Linked DNA regions of Homo sapiens: region 1 is linked to region 2. Evidence: promoter capture Hi-C in human tissues and cell types (Jung and others, 2019). All regions are on one chromosome and are shown on one strand. The core of a region is centred on a gene start or on the middle of the fragment in contact, and the rest is flanking DNA. Distances in the headings are between cores, read along the strand shown. Region 1 overlaps UBXN2A (UBX domain protein 2A). Region 2 holds the start of ITSN2 (intersectin 2).

Region 1 (4,417 bases), core at 1,748-4,247, 370 kb before region 2:
TCCAGTTATAATTAACACATTTATTTAATCAGTTTTCCTATATGTGACCAATGTCCTTTTTCCACTGCTGCCTCCTACCCCACATGTAAGCCTTCCTCACACTGCTTGGGCTTTGACTCTCCTTGTTGAATTCCAATATGGATTCCCTCCTCTTCCTGCTAGGCTCTCTGACACATCATCACCCCAGGGCACCCCTTCACTGGAATGCCCTCTCACACTGCTTGACTTGAGGACTCTATGCCAGTGACCTCCTCTGCTTGGTAGACTGACATTCTGGGCTGCCTCTAAGATGCTCTCCTCACCACTGTCTGGTTCTGACACACTGCAGTCAACTGCTCTTCCATATGAATGCTTTTTTACTCTGCTTGGGACAACCTGCTCTGTTGTGATTTTTACTGGGCAATAGCTGACTGATTCAGCCATGTAAACTTGGACTGTTACCCATAAAGGTAGACTGAATAATTATTTTTATAATGGAAGACAGTAATCAAAAAATATTTGCAGCTGGGCGTGGTGGCTCAGGCCTGAAATCCCAGCACTTTGGGAGGCCGGGGGGGCGGGGGGGCGGATCACTTGAGGTCGGAAGTTCAAGACCAACCTGGCCAACATGGTGAAACCCCATCTCCACAAAAAATACAAAAATTAGCTGAGTGTGGTGGCCCACTCCTGTAATCCCAGCTACTTGGGAGGCTGAAGCAGGAGAATGGCTTGAACCCAGGAGGTGGAGGTTGCAGTGAGCTGAAATCACACCACTGCACTCCAGCCTGGGTGACAGAGTGAGACTCCATCTCAAAAAAAAAAAAAAAGTATTTGCTATGGCTGCACACATAAACATGGATGAGTCCCAAAAACATAATGTAGAGATAAAGCTATAGAACACATACACTATGATTCCATTCATGTCAGGTTTAAAAAAGTAAAACTGTCCTTAAAAGCTACTAAGCCATGACTACTCTTCTCCTACCCACCAGCTTGGATATTTTTCCTCACCCCACTTGGCCTCTGACATCCTACACTAGACAGCTCTTATATGGGCCACCACAACTCCCAGCATTTCTGAAATAGATGCCTCCCATGTTCTGTCCTACTAATGGCTTGGTGGCTTTTGGACTGAATCATTAAAAAATTGTGTTTTTCTTCCGTTTTTTCTGCTTATTTTATTAGTTACCAAGAAAGTTGTGCTAAAATCTCCAACTATGATTATGGATTTGTCTATTTCTTATTTACTTCTGTCAATGTTTGCTTTATATATTTTAAAGTTATATAATTGGGTCCAGCAGAGATGAAATTGTGTTTTTCTGATTAATTGACTTTGTTGGGGAGAAAAGATTTTCTTCGCCCATTGCCTAGATTCATGGCTGAGACCCCTTTAACAAAAGACAGATTAACAAAAGAAATGCATGTGATTTTATATTTTATTTTATACACACACACACACACACACACACATATACATATATATATATTATATTTTTTTCTGTCTTTTTTGTTTTGTTTTGTTTTTGAGATGGAGTCTCTCTCTGTTGCCTAGGCTGGAGTGCAGTGGTGTGATCTCGGCTCACTGCAACTTCTGCCTCCCAGGTTCAAGCAATTCTCCCTGCCCCAGACTCCTGAGTAACTGGGATCACAGGCGCCTATCACCACACCTGGCTAATTTTTTTTGTATTTTTAGTAGAGAAAGGGTTTGCCATGTTGGCCAGTCTGGTCTCGAACTGCTGATCTCAGGTGGTCCGCTCACCTTGGCCTCCCAAAGTGCTGGGATTACAGGCGTGAGCCACAGTGCCCGGCCTTTTTTGTTTTTTGTTTGTTTGTTTTGTTTTGTTTTTTTGAGACAGTCTCAACTCTGTTGCCTAGGCTGGAGTGCAGTGGCATGATCTTGGCTCATTGAAACCTCTGCCTCCTGGGTTCAAGCAATTCTCGTCCCTCAGCCTCCCAAGTAGCTGGGATTATAGGCACCTGCCACCACGCCTGGCTAATTTTTGGGGTTTTTTGTTTTGTTTTGTTTTTTGAGATGGAGTCTTGCTCTGTCGCCAGGCTGGAATGCAGTGGCGCAATCTCAGCTCACTGCAACCTCCGCCTCCCTGGTTCATGCGATTCTCCTGCCTCAGCCTCCCGAGTAGCTGGGACTACAGGTGTGTGCCACCATGCCCAGCTAATTTTTGTATTTTTAGTAGAGATGGGGTTTCACCATGTTGGCCAGGCTGGTCTTGATCTCCTGACCTCATGATCCTCCTGCCTCGGCCTCCCAAAGTGCTGGGATTACAGGCATGAGCCACCGCGCCCAGCCTAATTTTGGTATTTTTAGTAGAGACAGGGTTTCGCCATGTTGGCCAGGCTGGTCTTGAACTCCTGGCCTAAGTTTGATGAGGAAGTGGATAGTTTGTGGAGAAGTATGATTGGAGGGCAAAAGGGGTATGATCTAATGGTAATAAATTAAGGGGAACTTAGCTTAGCCTGTTCGTTCAGATTCTTCGTGGCATCTCTGCATCTTCAAGGATAAGGTTGTTCCTTTCCTCTGGGTATACGAACAATACCTCGGAAAGGAAGGTTTTATGACCTACTTCAGAGGAAGGACAGATAATTTCTTTTTTGGTCTGCTTTGAGGGGAGAAGGGCAAGGGGAGAATGAGACTGATCTACCTGTTTCTGCTGTTTCCTCAAATGCCAAGGTGCCATATTTTAGGGTAGCATATCTTGAACCCTGTCAACCTTTTTAGCACTGTCACATGTCTCTCTCAATCCTTGGTAATGCTTTTTGTGTTAAATCTACTCTGCCTGATATTAATATGGTCATAACAGCTTCCTTCTAATTAGTATTTGCCTGGTATATTTTTCTACTTACTTTTAATTTCAACGTATCTGTATATATTTATCTGTGTGTGTATTTAAAACTATCTCTTGTAAATAGTTGAGTTTTGTTTTTAAATCTAGGCTAACAGTATTAGTTTCTGGTTTTGTGGGGTTTTTTCCTCCTGTTTTACTCTGCAAGGAGGTTTCTGTTTTGTGGATTTCTTTAGCTACCATCTACCTGGTGCTTTCTATGTGTTTGGCTCTCTTGAAGGCATTTCACTTTTATTTCTGTCAAAACCATTCTAGACAGCTGGAATCACACAACTGATTATCATAATAATAGAAGAAGCACAAGTTTGAAATTGTGTCCTGGAATGTTCTTTTGTGACCTAAATTCCTTCCAAATGAAGAGGAGAGCAAACTAAAGATGTAGAAATGGGAATGGGGATTTGTTATTCTGGCCCAAGCTTATTTGTTTATCTTCAGGGAAATAAATTTTAATCTTGACTTGTTTATCTAGGTGAATAACAATGAAACACGTAGCTTTTTTTCCCCCTAAATGACTGAAGCGTTTAAAAATTTTTGGCCAACAGCATTTATTTAGTAATGATTAATCAGGCTTTTTCTTTTCTGTTTTAAATATATAATATATTTTGGTAGAGACAGGGTCTCACCTGCTGGGATTATAGGCTTGAGCCACTGCCCCTGGCCAACAATTTCACTCTGTTACTCTCTTCCTTTTTGCTATTTTTGTCAACAAATATGTTACTTCTACGAACATTTTAACAACCCTCAAAATGCTATTACTTGTAAACAATATTCACTTATATATCATTTTACTTTTTCTGTTTTTTACCCAGTTTGATGTTTTAGCCTGAACAATTATGCTTAGTATCTCTTAAATTTTTTTAATTTTTTAATTTTTTTTTTTTTTCAAGACAGAGTCTTGCTCTGTCACCTGGTTGGAGCGCAGCGGAGTGATCTCAGCACACTGCGACCTCTGCCTCCCTGGTTCAAGCAATTCTCCTGTCTCAGCTTCCCAAGTAGCTGGCATTACAGGCATGCGCTACCACACCCAGCTAATTTTTGTATTTTTTTGGTAGAGACAGGGTTTCACCATGTTGGCCAGGCTGGTCTCCAACTCCTGACCTTGTGGTCCGCCTCGGCTTCCCAAAGTGCTGGGATTACAGGCGTGAGTCACCGAGCCCTGCCTTTAGTATCTCTTTAATTGCTTATCTACTAATGATGAATTCTCTTAGCTTTGATTTGAACACATCTTCATTTTTAAAGACCATTTTCACTAGGCTAGAACTGTCAGGTTTTTCTAGCACATCAGCTCTTAAGAATGCCCATATGTTGTCTTCCAGCTTCCACTCTCCTACTCAAAAATCAGCTGTCAGCCTTTTTCTTGCTCTTTTGAAAGATATTAAGTCTTTTTTCCTCTCAGTTTAAAATTTTTCTCTTTGTTCTTAGATTTTAATAGCTTGAATATGATGTGCCTAGGTGTTAGTTATCTTTGCATTATATTGCTTAGAATTTGCTGAGTTTCTTGGATCCATAGTTAAGGTTTTTTGTCAGTTTGGGGAGTTTCTTGGCCAGTATTGATGGAAATGTTCTCGTATTTTATT
Region 2 (4,961 bases), core at 766-3,265:
GACAGCCAATATGTGACCCTTTTGTCTTACTAAAGATGGAAATTTGTGAAACTCTACATTAAAACTAAAAATCCTAAGGTTACATGATTTTCTACTTTTTAAAAAAGATATACTAACTACATAAGGTTAAAGGATTTTTTAAAATAAGAAAGAAAAAAAGAAAAGCTTCTTGAAAGCTGCTGAGTTTGGGTGATGGGTACATGCTATTTTTGTGAAAATACAAATTTTTTAACACTATTAATCCAATCCCCAAAACATGCCTAACACACCTCCTCATATTCAGGAGAGATCAAGATTTTAGCCTTGAGATGTACCGAACAATGGTAACTCCCTGCTTAGTAATTCTGTACAGGTCAAGTTTTCTTGGACGAGTTTACCTTTCATTACAAAGGTGGGCACAGGGAATAGTTATCAATGCATGGAAGGGTGAAAAAATGCAAGCTTTTCAACTGCTTATTAATATTACATCAAAATAGCAGCAATGCACATTTTTTCCACGTTTTCAAAAACATAAAATACATCCACTTTATTTACTTTTGAAATTACAAGAGAGTCACAGGCACAGCCAAAAAAAGCTAAAGGAAAACACATCAGAGTTGTCAGTATCTTTAAATTTGGAAGGACGTCATTATTAATTCGCGTAAATGTTTTATGCGATGTTTCTAGGTAGCTTTTAGGTTTTATCACTGATTAACAATATAGCAAACCAGCACAGGGAGAGAGGCAATTTTTCGAAACGCTTAAGAAGCTTTAAACTACAAGAGCTATGCTACCTAAACTGAGCTCACTAACAACGTAAAATTTCAAGTCACACCTTGCCTATTTCTGAGTAAGCAAGCAAACACTAGTGAGACAAACTAGAAGCATGGAGCAAAGCAAGTCATTTCTATGCTAACCTTAATTCCTATCGTAAAGGGGTTGGCTCCATCAAAAAATATTCCTATTTCAGTATTAACACAAGTTTCAAATAAAGCACACTTGCCATTGGTAATTCTAGAGCGACAAGGCGCATAATTAATAAATCCAAACGGAGCATCTTTCTATAGAATACAAAGCCATCTGCAGTTTCAGCCTCGGTTTACCCACTCACTATGCATATGCAGACGTCTTTAAAAATAAATAAATAAATACACAAATAAACTTTATCTGGCCTGAGAGATTACATCTCTCGGTGCTTCCTGTATATTCTGGAAGTCAATAACGCTGAAGGTAAATTTAACATTTCCAACTCCGGAGGAACGCGAGCGGTAGACGCCAAGCATCCGCCCACTGTCCTCTCGTGACTCGGGCTACTTTGACGCACCGGGATGCGGCTCACCTGACATTCGGCACCAACCCTTGCCAGGAAGGAAAACCAACTCCGCGAAAATAAAATGGGTCCCCGAGGAGGCGTGCGGGTGCCCCCAGAGCTCTCTTCTGCTCACACCCCGAAAGCGAGGGGGCCACGCCACCCCCGACCCTCGCCGGCGTCCGCCACCTGCCAGACGAGGCCGCGGCCAGGGACCCGGGCTCGGCCGCAAGGAAGGGGCAGCCCAGCCCAGGCCCCCTCGGCGTCTGTCCCGGCCCGGCAGCAGAGGAAGGAACCCGGGGCCGGAGGTTTCCGCCCCGCACGGCCGAGCCCGCCAGGGGCCTAGCTCGGGGGCCGCCCGTACTCCCGAGGACCCGTCCCCATCGTGCGGAGCGCACAGCCGCCTCAGCCCGACCCGCAGAGCCTCCGGGCAGCGGGCGCGGCGCCCGCACCTGCCCCGCGCCTTGCTGCAGCCCCGCTAGCGGCTTCACCCACCTGGCGCCCTCGCCGCGCCTCCCGCTCGTCACAGCGCGACTCCGCGTCCCTCAGCACCGGCAGCCTGGGCGCGGGCAGGCGCGGGGAGACCCTGCTCTGCCGCCGTCGCCGCCACTGCAGCTGGCTTGGTCGTCAGGCCGCCGCCCGCGAACCTGTTGCGTAGCCTGTCACAGCCGCTCAGGGCTCCGCCGGCGCCGCCTCAGCCCCACAACAACATGGCGGCCGCGGCCTCCGCAGGAAGCCGGGGGGCGGGGAGGTAGGCGCCGGGCCGGGCAGCTGACGGCCCGCCCGCTGCCGGGCACCGACTCCCCACCCTCCGGAGCCCGAAACTGCCCGGGCGTGGCTCCTCGCCCCAGGAGTTCCGGGGCATTGAACCCTGAAGGTCTGCTCCGAGTCGGTCGGGTCCGAAGCGCTCCTCTCTGCCCTCGGGGAGGCCCCGAAGCCCCAGACCTGGCAGCCCTTCCTGGAGTTGCACAGACCCACCTGGCTCCTCCTCCCCGAGGTAACATGCTGAGCTTGGGTGGTGCTTTTCCTGCCACGGCAGACGCCGGGGTTTTGGAAAGTCCCAAGCAGTGCCTGCCACATCCCTGTTGCACCCACCACGGGGTTCTCCCTGGAACCTTCTCACTCGCCGAAGTTTTCTCCACTGATCTGGGGGAACGAATTCTCTGGGAATTGGGGGGTGGAAGGTGGGAAGGAGGTTGATCCCACCCTTGCCCATGGGTCTGTTACAGGCCTCTTGAACCCTTCTCAGGGACCTGGAGGACTTAACCATACCCTCGGTCATCCATTCACCATTCCTCGCCCTCCTCCATAACACACGCGGAGCGCCCACGAGGAGCACCCTCTACGCTAGTCACACTCCGCCGAGCAGTAGGAAGACTCTGTCCCCATAGAGCATAGCACGACGAAGCTAAACTTTCCTCCCCACCCCTCGCCAAGGGACAGGCGAAGCTCCTACTCAGAATTTGTCTCTTTTCTCCCCTCCCGGTTCCTGGTCTCCTCACAAAAGACCAGACTTCAACTCAAGCCGCCACCGTATCCCAAAACCCCAAAGGTTTGCCCTTGACAAGAAGCTTCTTCAAGGGGAAAGGCTTTCTTTTGATTGGGGTGAGGGAGGAGTTAGTGTTTCCTAATGAACGTAACCAAATGTCGGCCTGGCACAGTGGCTCACGCTTGTAACCCCGGCACTTTGGGAGGCCGAGGCAGGTGGATCATCTGAGGTCAGGAGTTGGAGACCAGCCTGGCCAACATGGTGAAACCCCGCCTCTTCTAACAATACAAAAATTAGCTGGGCGTGGTGGCGGGCGCCTGTAGTCCCAGCTACTCGGAAGGCTGAGGCAGGAGAATCGCTTGAACCTGGGAGGCGGAGGTTGCAGTGAGCAGAGATTGCACCACTGTACTCCAGCCTGGGCGACAAGAGCGAAACTCTGTCTCAAAAAAAAAAAAGTAACCAAATGTAAGACTCAAGATTTTTGGATATAAGACCCAAGATTTCTTTTTTTTTTTTTTTTTTTTTTTTTTTTTTTCCTGAGACAGACTCTCACTCCGTTGCCCAGGCTGGAGTGCAGTGGCGCAACTGTGAGATCTGTGCTCACTGCAACCTCCGCCTCCCAGGTTCAAGCAATTCTCCTGCCTCAGCCTTCCAAGTACCTGGGATTACAGGCACTTGCCACCACGCCCGGCTAATTTTTGTATTTTTAGTAGACACTGGTTTCACCATGTTGGCCAGGCTGGTCTCAAACTCCTGACCTCAGGTGATCCACCCGCCTCATCCTCCCAAAGTGCTGGGATTGGCGTGAGCCACCACGCCCGGCCAAGACCCAAGATTTATTTTGGCTTTTAGAAGCAGGGTGAGGGCTGGTCTGGGGTCCAAAACTCATATCCCTTGATTTGATCTGTGTAGATCAAATAACCCCTGGCATCCTTTCATTCCTTACCTGTTGAGGCAGGTGAAGGTGAGATGGCTCCAAACCCAGGCCTATCTGAACTGGCCAGCCAGCTTAGGAGGAATTTACCAAACATCGATGATGATAAACAGGCTTTTCCCGCTCTCACACTCAGTGTTTTTCCTAACTCTTCGATTAGAACCTGACCAAGACCTGACAGACAGGTCCTGAGCTTCAGTGACACAGAGAAGCCTGACTCTTTTATCAGTCTAGGAGGCCCCTCACTTGCTGGGGACCAGCCAATCTGTCCTTATCTGCAAACAAACCACCCAGGCCAAGGATAGCAATCTTGAGCACGTGGCCTCATTCCCATTGCACCCTTCACCAGTTAACTGATATGCTCTTTTGGAGCCCATATTTGAGAGTCAAAGCCCCAGAATCCTTCACAACATAGTGCTCCAGAGAGTTGGTCTGAGAGGTAAAACCTATTTTTTATTCCTGTTAGGCACATAGCTAGTCTTCATTTTTCTCCCATCCTTTGACCAATGTCATTTGTGTTTTCGGGTTCTAGACCTGGTGCAATTTACCCTGAGTCTCCTTTCCTTCTAAAGGAGGTGCCAAATCCTTGGCAGGACAAAAATGGAATTTGTAGAAAGAGATGCTTATAAAGGAATAAAAAAAAATTTAAAGCCCCCCTAAAATAAACCAAAAAACTAACAACCTCTGCTGGAAATCAGGGTCCTGAATGCATGCCTACAGTATCCCAAGTACTAAAACAACTGTATCCCAGAGTTCCCTTCAGAACTTTGAGGCCAGTTTGTCCATCCTGTCCTACTCTATCACAGCCCAAAATGCAAGCACCTCCAGTTATCTATCTTCTCTCTCACACATACCTCCCACCCTGTGTGATTCAGGGATAAATTTGGGCAATATTAAGCATTTGGTGGTTGGATATAAGGAATGAGAAGGAGTAAAGGGTTCTTGGGTTTTTGGGTAATGGTAGTTCTATTCAACAAGATAAAGAATGGAATACAGGAGGGAAGCACAGACCTTGGAAGTGGCTGAAGAAACATTTTCCTTGCTCCTCGACTGCATCCAGATCCTAGTTTTCCACTCACATGCAAAAGCCCCTTCTCCTATGAGGCTTATAACACTAGCTACACCCATCCTCTATCCTCATCCTTATCATTTACCATCTTCCAGGGCACTCAATATATTCCTCAAGAATTTCTGCACATGGAGCAGCCAGTACTCTCCGCCCAGGACCTTCATCATCCTTAGTGTCTTTC

The links. Contacts are between HindIII fragments. The study calls those that stand out against the background at their distance.
Region 1: a fragment that was not itself captured here is called in contact with the fragment with the promoter of ITSN2 in region 2 in 2 of the 25 tissues and cell types used here (lymphoblastoid cells and mesenchymal stem cells).

Annotation. Positions count from the first base shown.
Region 1 is chr2:23,989,983-23,994,399 of GRCh38, forward strand. All of the region lies in intron 6 of UBXN2A (UBX domain protein 2A), which reads left to right. Among named protein-coding and RNA genes, the nearest start is that of MFSD2B, 18 kb to the right of the region's middle. The HindIII fragment of the contact is 5,804 bases long and covers 96-4,417 here.
Region 2 is chr2:24,358,521-24,363,481 of GRCh38, forward strand. ITSN2 (intersectin 2) reads right to left here and starts at 2,016. Exons shown (of 40, transcript NM_006277.3): 1 at 1,784-2,016. RefSeq lists silencers at 1,430-1,829, 1,840-1,889, 1,900-2,199 and an enhancer at 2,300-2,449. The HindIII fragment of the contact is 6,107 bases long and covers 595-4,961 here.